2 separate regions of the Homo sapiens genome follow, and region 1 is linked to region 2. Evidence: promoter capture Hi-C in 16 types of primary human blood cells and fetal thymus (Javierre and others, 2016). All regions are on one chromosome and are shown on one strand. The core of a region is centred on a gene start or on the middle of the fragment in contact, and the rest is flanking DNA. Distances in the headings are between cores, read along the strand shown. Region 1 overlaps WLS (Wnt ligand secretion mediator). Region 2 holds the start of DEPDC1-AS2 (DEPDC1 antisense RNA 2).

Region 1 (3,192 bases), core at 586-3,085, 330 kb before region 2:
TTCTCACTATGTAAATCTATAAAAAGCTTAATTTTAAAGAAATCTGTAAAACCAAATCCCTAAGAATGACAGTAAAATAGTTTCCCATAGTAATATTTCTTCTGCAGAGGTGAGTGTGGCTGAAAATTTCTTGGGCCAAGTATTTCCTATGTTCTTATCACTCATAAAGCAGCGATACGAGAGCCTGGGAAATTATATTCACAACACGTCGTGAGGCTGCTAATTTCCCTGCTAAGCTGGTTATGCTTCTCTGCAAGGGTTCAAAGTTACCAAATCCAAGTTTTCTGTGGTTGTAATAAAATTCTGCTCCAGTGAACAAAAAGAAATGTGCATATTAATCAACATGAAGTGGATTTGGTTGAATTTTCTCATGTCACTCCAGCTCTGGAGACAGGCAAGCCTTAGAAAGTGCCTGTGGTTTCCTAAGAGCAGGATTTAAGAGAACCTGTGTTTCAGAGAGGGAGGCCTATTATTCAGGGGCTCTTCTGTGCAGATCTACTGCATATAAAAACTCTGAGGTTCTGTAGTTTCTGCTTCTCTTTTCATACAGGAATTAGGCTTGTTTCTCCAAGGACAGCCACTTAGGCATGAACCCAGGGGATCCCTGATAAATCAAGGATGTGTTGCTTGCATTGGGGATTTGAGGATGTTAAGTGTTTCTCTTGAATGAGGAACATAATCTATAAACAGAGATTACTGAACTCTGTCTGAGCATCTGCTGGATATTTTAGGGGAATGTGGCCTGTTAAGAGTCTGGAAATCAGATCACGTGGGCTAAACCCTGTTTAATTACAGGACAGGGTTGATTCTGGGACAGAACTTTGACTAAAGCCTCATCCCAACAAAATCCCAATTATGCCATAGTCCAATCTCCCAGCTAGTATGTAACCTACATTCCATCACCAAGCTGAAGAACCGGCTGAACAAGTTTATTCATTACTGAAAATGGAAACACATTTGTACCACAGAAAACACCAAGATTTAGGCCAGCTAGATGCTTCTCAGAGTAAGATTTGGCCTCTAATTTTGCCCAGAGATCCTACATGAGAATCTCTCAATTTGTATTTCAAAGTAAAGGCTTTCTATCTCCAGGGTGTGTGTGTTTACACATCAAGTGGAAAGATCAAGCAAGCACCAGTTCCAGAACGAGCCAAGAAATCTGCCCACCTCATAGTGTAGCCGCCGGACTTTGCTCATAGCTGGCAGGCTGGACTGCTTCCCACTGATGTTCCGAAACACCTGAAATACCATGAAGCATAGAAACAGGAAGTAGAGGCAGAGGCAGATTCCAGCCACGATGATGAAGGCCATCTGGTCGTGTCCAGTAAAGGAAACAACGGGCTAGCCAAGGCCAAGTTGAGCCGGGTCCAGGCCCTTCTCCCCAGGTCTGTTGGCAATACTTGTTTTGTCTCCAAATATGTAGAAAATTTTCAAGGGGATAAAATATTAAAACCTGATATTCTAATGCCAATGATAGGTTTCTTGACACATTAGTACCACAGAGGGAGGTGTTCAATATTGCTTTCTAAACCAAGTAAGAAAAGAAATGGTGTCTTGCTTGTTAGAAATGAAGAATCTAGGCCCTACCCTAGACCTAATGAATCAGAATCTACCTTTTAACCAGGTCCCCAGGAGATCCGTATACACAATAAATTTGAGAAGCACTAATAAACCATATATTCGTCACTATGGATCAGATGAAAAACCACAGTAAAATCACCAGAAGGGTTCAAATGTAGATCCCCAGGTCCCTCCCTAGATATATGGAATCAGATATTCCAGGGCTAGGACATCAAGTATGACTATGTTTGGGAACCACTGGGCTAGTCCTTGGAGTTTTATAAGAATGCGATTGAGATACTCTGGCATAATTGAAGAGGAGATACGTGGGGGCTCAGTGCAGGGGACCTGGGCATGGGCTTGAAAGTCTTAAAGTGAAACCAGGGATGAAGGACTATTTGCAATCTTCTGTCACCACAGAAAATCTTGTCCAACAGAATGGGGATTCAAGGACACATGGCACAGGTGGGAGTCTGGGTTGCTGCCAGTATACTTGAGACCCACTAGGGAGACTGACCTGCCAATTAGAGCCAGTCTGAGAACCACCAAGTCTTAGGATAGCGTGAGCTGCCTTGGAAGGCAGATGACCTGATTCCAACCCCTTTCTGCTACAACTTTGCCCAAATTGCCTTTTTTTTTTTGAGACAGAGTTTTGCTTTTGTTGCCCGGGCTGAAGTGCGATGGCACAATCTTGGCTCACCACAACCTCCTCCTCCCAGGTTCAAGCGATTCTCCTGCCTCAGCCTCCCGAGTAGCTGGGATTACAGGGATAAGCCACCACACCTGGCCCAAATTGTCTATTTTTAAAAGCATTTAATAAGTATGAACTTGGCGTGCATATTTCATTAAATAATATAATATCTAATGCAGTTTCTCCTTCTTTCCTATAATGAACATCATCCTGGAATGAAGGGAATATAGTTATTTTCTGCAGGACTTGAAATTTTACTCACTCCATCCTATCTACAAAATTAAAAAAGTTGAACTAGATTTAACATTAGAAACATTCTTCTTGTTGTGCAGCTAACATTTGGTGGGGGCATAACAGAGGAAGGGTAGAGCTTCTCTCTCATCTTTGAGGAAATGATACTACTGATTTAGTTTGCTCACAATGTTCTTGTGACACTGAGAAACCAATATAAACATCATGGCAAGACAAAGGATATTCCCTAGCACGTGGCAAGATATGAGCCATCAAGGAAGAATACAACCCAAGCCTTTCTCTCCACTCCAGAGCAGAGTCTTTTTCTCCCAAGATCATTTCACATACTATTCCGGAAGATAAAATATTTAAATCCAGCATCCTAAAAGGGATAAGCTAAGACTGTCACTTCTGCTTCATGAAGATGACTTAGAGTTTATGCCAACCAACCAGAAGCCTTGGCGACTTCTCTGGAACTAATCACCTTAGCCTTATCTCCACTTGGTCTCAGGAATAAATAGCAGCAGTGTGATTTGCCAGCACACCAAGGTCACTTAAGAAGTCTCACACATAGGTGGTTTCAGAAACAGGCTCTTCCACAGGGGCCCAGAGATGAACCTCCATGGCTCCAGGGAAAAGCTAGTCATGCTTCAGTCTGCAGGAAACAGTGTATAACAGATAATTCAGACAGGCTGCAGTAAGCCTAGCAA
Region 2 (3,606 bases), core at 11-2,510:
TGAGAGGTAGAAACTTTTTGCTCATCAAACTCCTGAGCACTAATCTGCTTACAGTATGAGTAAGTTGGCAAAGGAGCAAATAGTCCATCTCCAGGATTTTCAATCTGTAGTGATCAAAATGATATAACTCTGTTAATTCTGGTCATGTTCTTATATGATAAAGTATTCTTTTGATGGGATCTAGCACCTATTAATTTACCACCAATCAAACATTCAGCCATTAAAAAAACTATGTATTATGCAGTAGAGGTATGTAAGTCAGTAGGTTCTAAACCCCAGCTCCATAATCTACTTGGTTTGTAGCATTCAACAATGTATTTAACTTTTCTTGGTCTGTTTCTTCATCATTAAAATGGAAATTACATAAGAAAATGTATAGAAAGGGCTCAGCCCACAATAAGCATTAAATAAAGACAGGTATTATAATTATTACCATTAACTATGGATTTTATTCTTTTAACTATAAAATAACAATCTAAGTGTTATTCTAATTCATCTTAAGACTTTAATGTTCTGACAGTGCAGGTAGTAGATGATCAGCATATTTACTGAAATGAAATATTTTTAGTTTTCATGTATTTTTTTTTTTTTTGAGGCCTAGGGACATAGGCAGAGCTTCTAACATCTTCTGATAAGAGAAAGAAATTCTAGGAGATAGTTATAATTATAAGCCAGGGCAATATTAGAATGGTATGTATGGGAAAAACATAAACATGTGTTGGGCAGCCAAAGACAGAATACAGTAGATGTCTGTTATTTTGGCTGCTCAGTATTCCTTCTCTCCTTCTTTTAATAGTTCCTTCCCATTTTACCCCTCTACCTTCACCTTTTGTGAAGAATAAATTCTCCTTTGTGTAGAACCAATCAGAGTAAGGCCCTATCTCCATCCTACTCACTCTTAACAACCTAAACGATGCATATTTAACCTCAACTATGCTAAGAGTCTACATCCAGAGCTTTTAAATTGGAGACGGAGGAATGGCTCTTTTTCCTTTGAATTGCAAATGTAAGGCTCTAACTCATGAACTTCAACTAGCCACATTCCTCATCATGTGAAGGAGCCATTGTCAAACACAGGATCAACACAGAAATAAGAGATGGAGGGATGGAAAGAGTCATATAGCTATTTGAGTCCCAGATTCTGTCTACATTCCTGACTTTTAGAGGTTGTTTATGGGAGCTGATAAAGTCTCCCTTTTTGATTAAGCTATTTTGAGATGAGTTTGCCACTTGCAACTGACTATTGCAGAGAATTTTAAGACTCACAATACTTACATGTCCCTTTTTTAAGTAGTCAAGATGTTTTTCCACTGCAGTCTGTAAGTAAGAGGGTACTTGAAGAATTTCCTGATGATGATCCATTAAGAAAGAAACTAATCTTCCAGCAAGAAGCTCATCAAGATCCACTTCTTCAGCACAGCATAACACACATCGAGAAAAGGTATGTATCATCTAGAAAAATATTAAAAGATGTGAATTTAAAAAGCTAAGGTTGCATACAAACTAGAATATCGGTAATTTCCAGGTAGCATTATGTGAAGTATTGGGAAAAAGTGGTAAGCAGCCCTCAGTTTAAAAATGAGGACAACGATTTATACAGTTAGAAATGTAAGAATTTGATTATACATAAATCCTTTTTAAAGTTTTTCCATGGCTGAGCATGGTGGTTCATGCCTGTAATCTAAGCACTTTGGGAGGCTGAGGTGAGAGGCTCACTTGAGGCAAGGAGTTCGAAGCCAGCCTAGGCAACATAGTGAAACCCTATACCTATGAAGAAATAAAAAACTAGCCAGGCATGATGGTGCATGACTGTGGTTCCAGCTACTTGGGAGAGTGAGGCAGAAGGATTTTTTGAGCCCAGGAATTCCAGGGTGCAGTGAGCTATGATCACACCACTGTACTCTAGCCTGGGAAACAGAGCGTGATCCTGTGTAACCAGAAAAAAAAAAAAAAAGTATATCCTTAATGTAATTCCCAAGAATTATAAAAGGCTTTGGTTTTTCTACAATTTTGTCACAATTTTATCAGTAAACACCATAGGTTCTATTAATACCACATATATATGTTGCTTAAGCTTAAAGATTGTCAGAGAACAATAACTAATTACATTAAATGAATCCCACAGAAAAACACAAACCAGGAGAATGTGTAACATATAGAACACTTCTATTCATAAGTGGTTGCAAAGCTGATGCCATTTAGCTTTTGAAATGCTGGAAAATAGTTTTTAAAAATGTTTATTCTGTCAGTCTTTAGACAGCAATTTAAAACACACATTTTTCAATTCCATCTTATGGGATCTTCAAATCCTGGGATAAAATTGATTACTCTCACTTATTACTCTCGTTACTTTCACTTATATCTATGCAACCCTCTAACTGTACCACACACACACACACACACACACACACACACCCCTCATTCTAAAATACTTAGAAATCAGAATTGTTTTAAATATTTCACACATAGTAGATGATCAGAATATTTATAGAATTGATACATTTTTAGTTTTATTCCTACACATCACTCGGGGTTTCCTGTCTCCTTCCATGGCTCAGACCTCAGCCTTTTGCTCTTTCTTCACACTCTTAGCCTTGTAGAGCTCATCTACTCTCATAGCTTCAAGTACTATCCCTATGTAAATGACCAAATCAATTTGCATTCTCCCCTGATCTTTCTTCACCTGGCTCATATTTCCAACATTCTGTTGGACAAATTTCAATTTCTCTTGGAGGTCCTATGACTTCAAATCTTAAAAGTGCAAAACCAAAATTATCACCTTCCCAGTCATGTCTCTGAAAACATCTTCCTCTATAAACTTCCTAGCTTTTTAATAGTGCTATAATTACTCAAGAATAATTCTTCTTCTTTATATTAGGTCTGTCATTGTTAAAGAACTATCTTTAATAACGCGTGGAAGAAAGCATAACTCCGGATTCCTTGCTATAAGAACCTCTTGTAAATTGAAGTTGCATTTTGAGGAAGTGGTGACTTAAAAAAAAAGAAAGAGATTAAAGATACTATTTCAAGAGTTCATTTCCAATCAATTGTCTGCATATAAATGCCCTTATCCTCATTTTCACAAGGAGCCTAAGGCTGTTTGGCAATAGTGCTTCCCAACTTCTTGTCCACGATGACCTACTTTTCCATTACTATATTCTCTGAAACACTGACTTACTGTATTAAGTTCCATTAGTTCTCTGCGTCCACAGTTATAGTCTCCTTAGGCTTTCAACAGTACCTACATTTCTTCTTCCTTATCCACCAAACAGAATTGGCACAAGGCAACATAACGTGGTCTGACTGGTCAATCACTATGAAGTGATTCAGGATGAATGAGCAGGCAAAGTCCTTAGCCAGGATTAACATCAGCATGTGAAAGTATAACAGAGTGTGCACAAAAGATTAATACACCAAAATTCTGCTGCTAGGAAAGGTTAAAGAGCCTTTCCAACCTAAGAATCTAGCACTTTAAGACTAAGACATCACTTGAGTAGTACTTTTACGTAGTTTGGTTTTGTTATTTTGGTTTATGAATCAGACTTATTCTTTCTATAAGAAATCAACTTACCAGTGACCTCGTACCCATTGCATCATGAAGTTTGG

Evidence for each region. Contacts are between HindIII fragments. The CHiCAGO score rates a contact against its expected background, and 5 or more counts as called.
Region 1: a fragment that was not itself captured here is called in contact with the fragment with the promoter of DEPDC1-AS2 in region 2 in 4 of 17 cell types (naive B cells, total B cells, neutrophils and 1 more); the score reaches 6.0 in naive B cells.

What each region holds. Positions count from the first base shown.
Region 1 is chr1:68,144,702-68,147,893 of GRCh38, forward strand. WLS (Wnt ligand secretion mediator) reads right to left here. Exons shown (of 12, transcript NM_024911.7): 9 at 1,168-1,311. All of the region lies in intron 9 of GNG12-AS1 (GNG12, DIRAS3 and WLS antisense RNA 1), which reads left to right. Among named protein-coding and RNA genes, the nearest start is that of MIR1262, 37 kb to the right of the region's middle. RefSeq lists an enhancer at 3,024-3,192. The HindIII fragment of the contact is 3,622 bases long and covers 25-3,192 here.
Region 2 is chr1:68,477,869-68,481,474 of GRCh38, forward strand. It overlaps DEPDC1-AS2 (DEPDC1 antisense RNA 2), which reads left to right and starts at 1,261. Exons shown (of 2, transcript NR_198991.1): 1 at 1,261-1,441. It overlaps DEPDC1 (DEP domain containing 1), which reads right to left. Exons shown (of 12, transcript NM_001114120.3): 9 at 3,572-3,606; 10 at 1,276-1,452; 11 at 1-104. The HindIII fragment of the contact is 5,599 bases long and covers 1-2,072 here.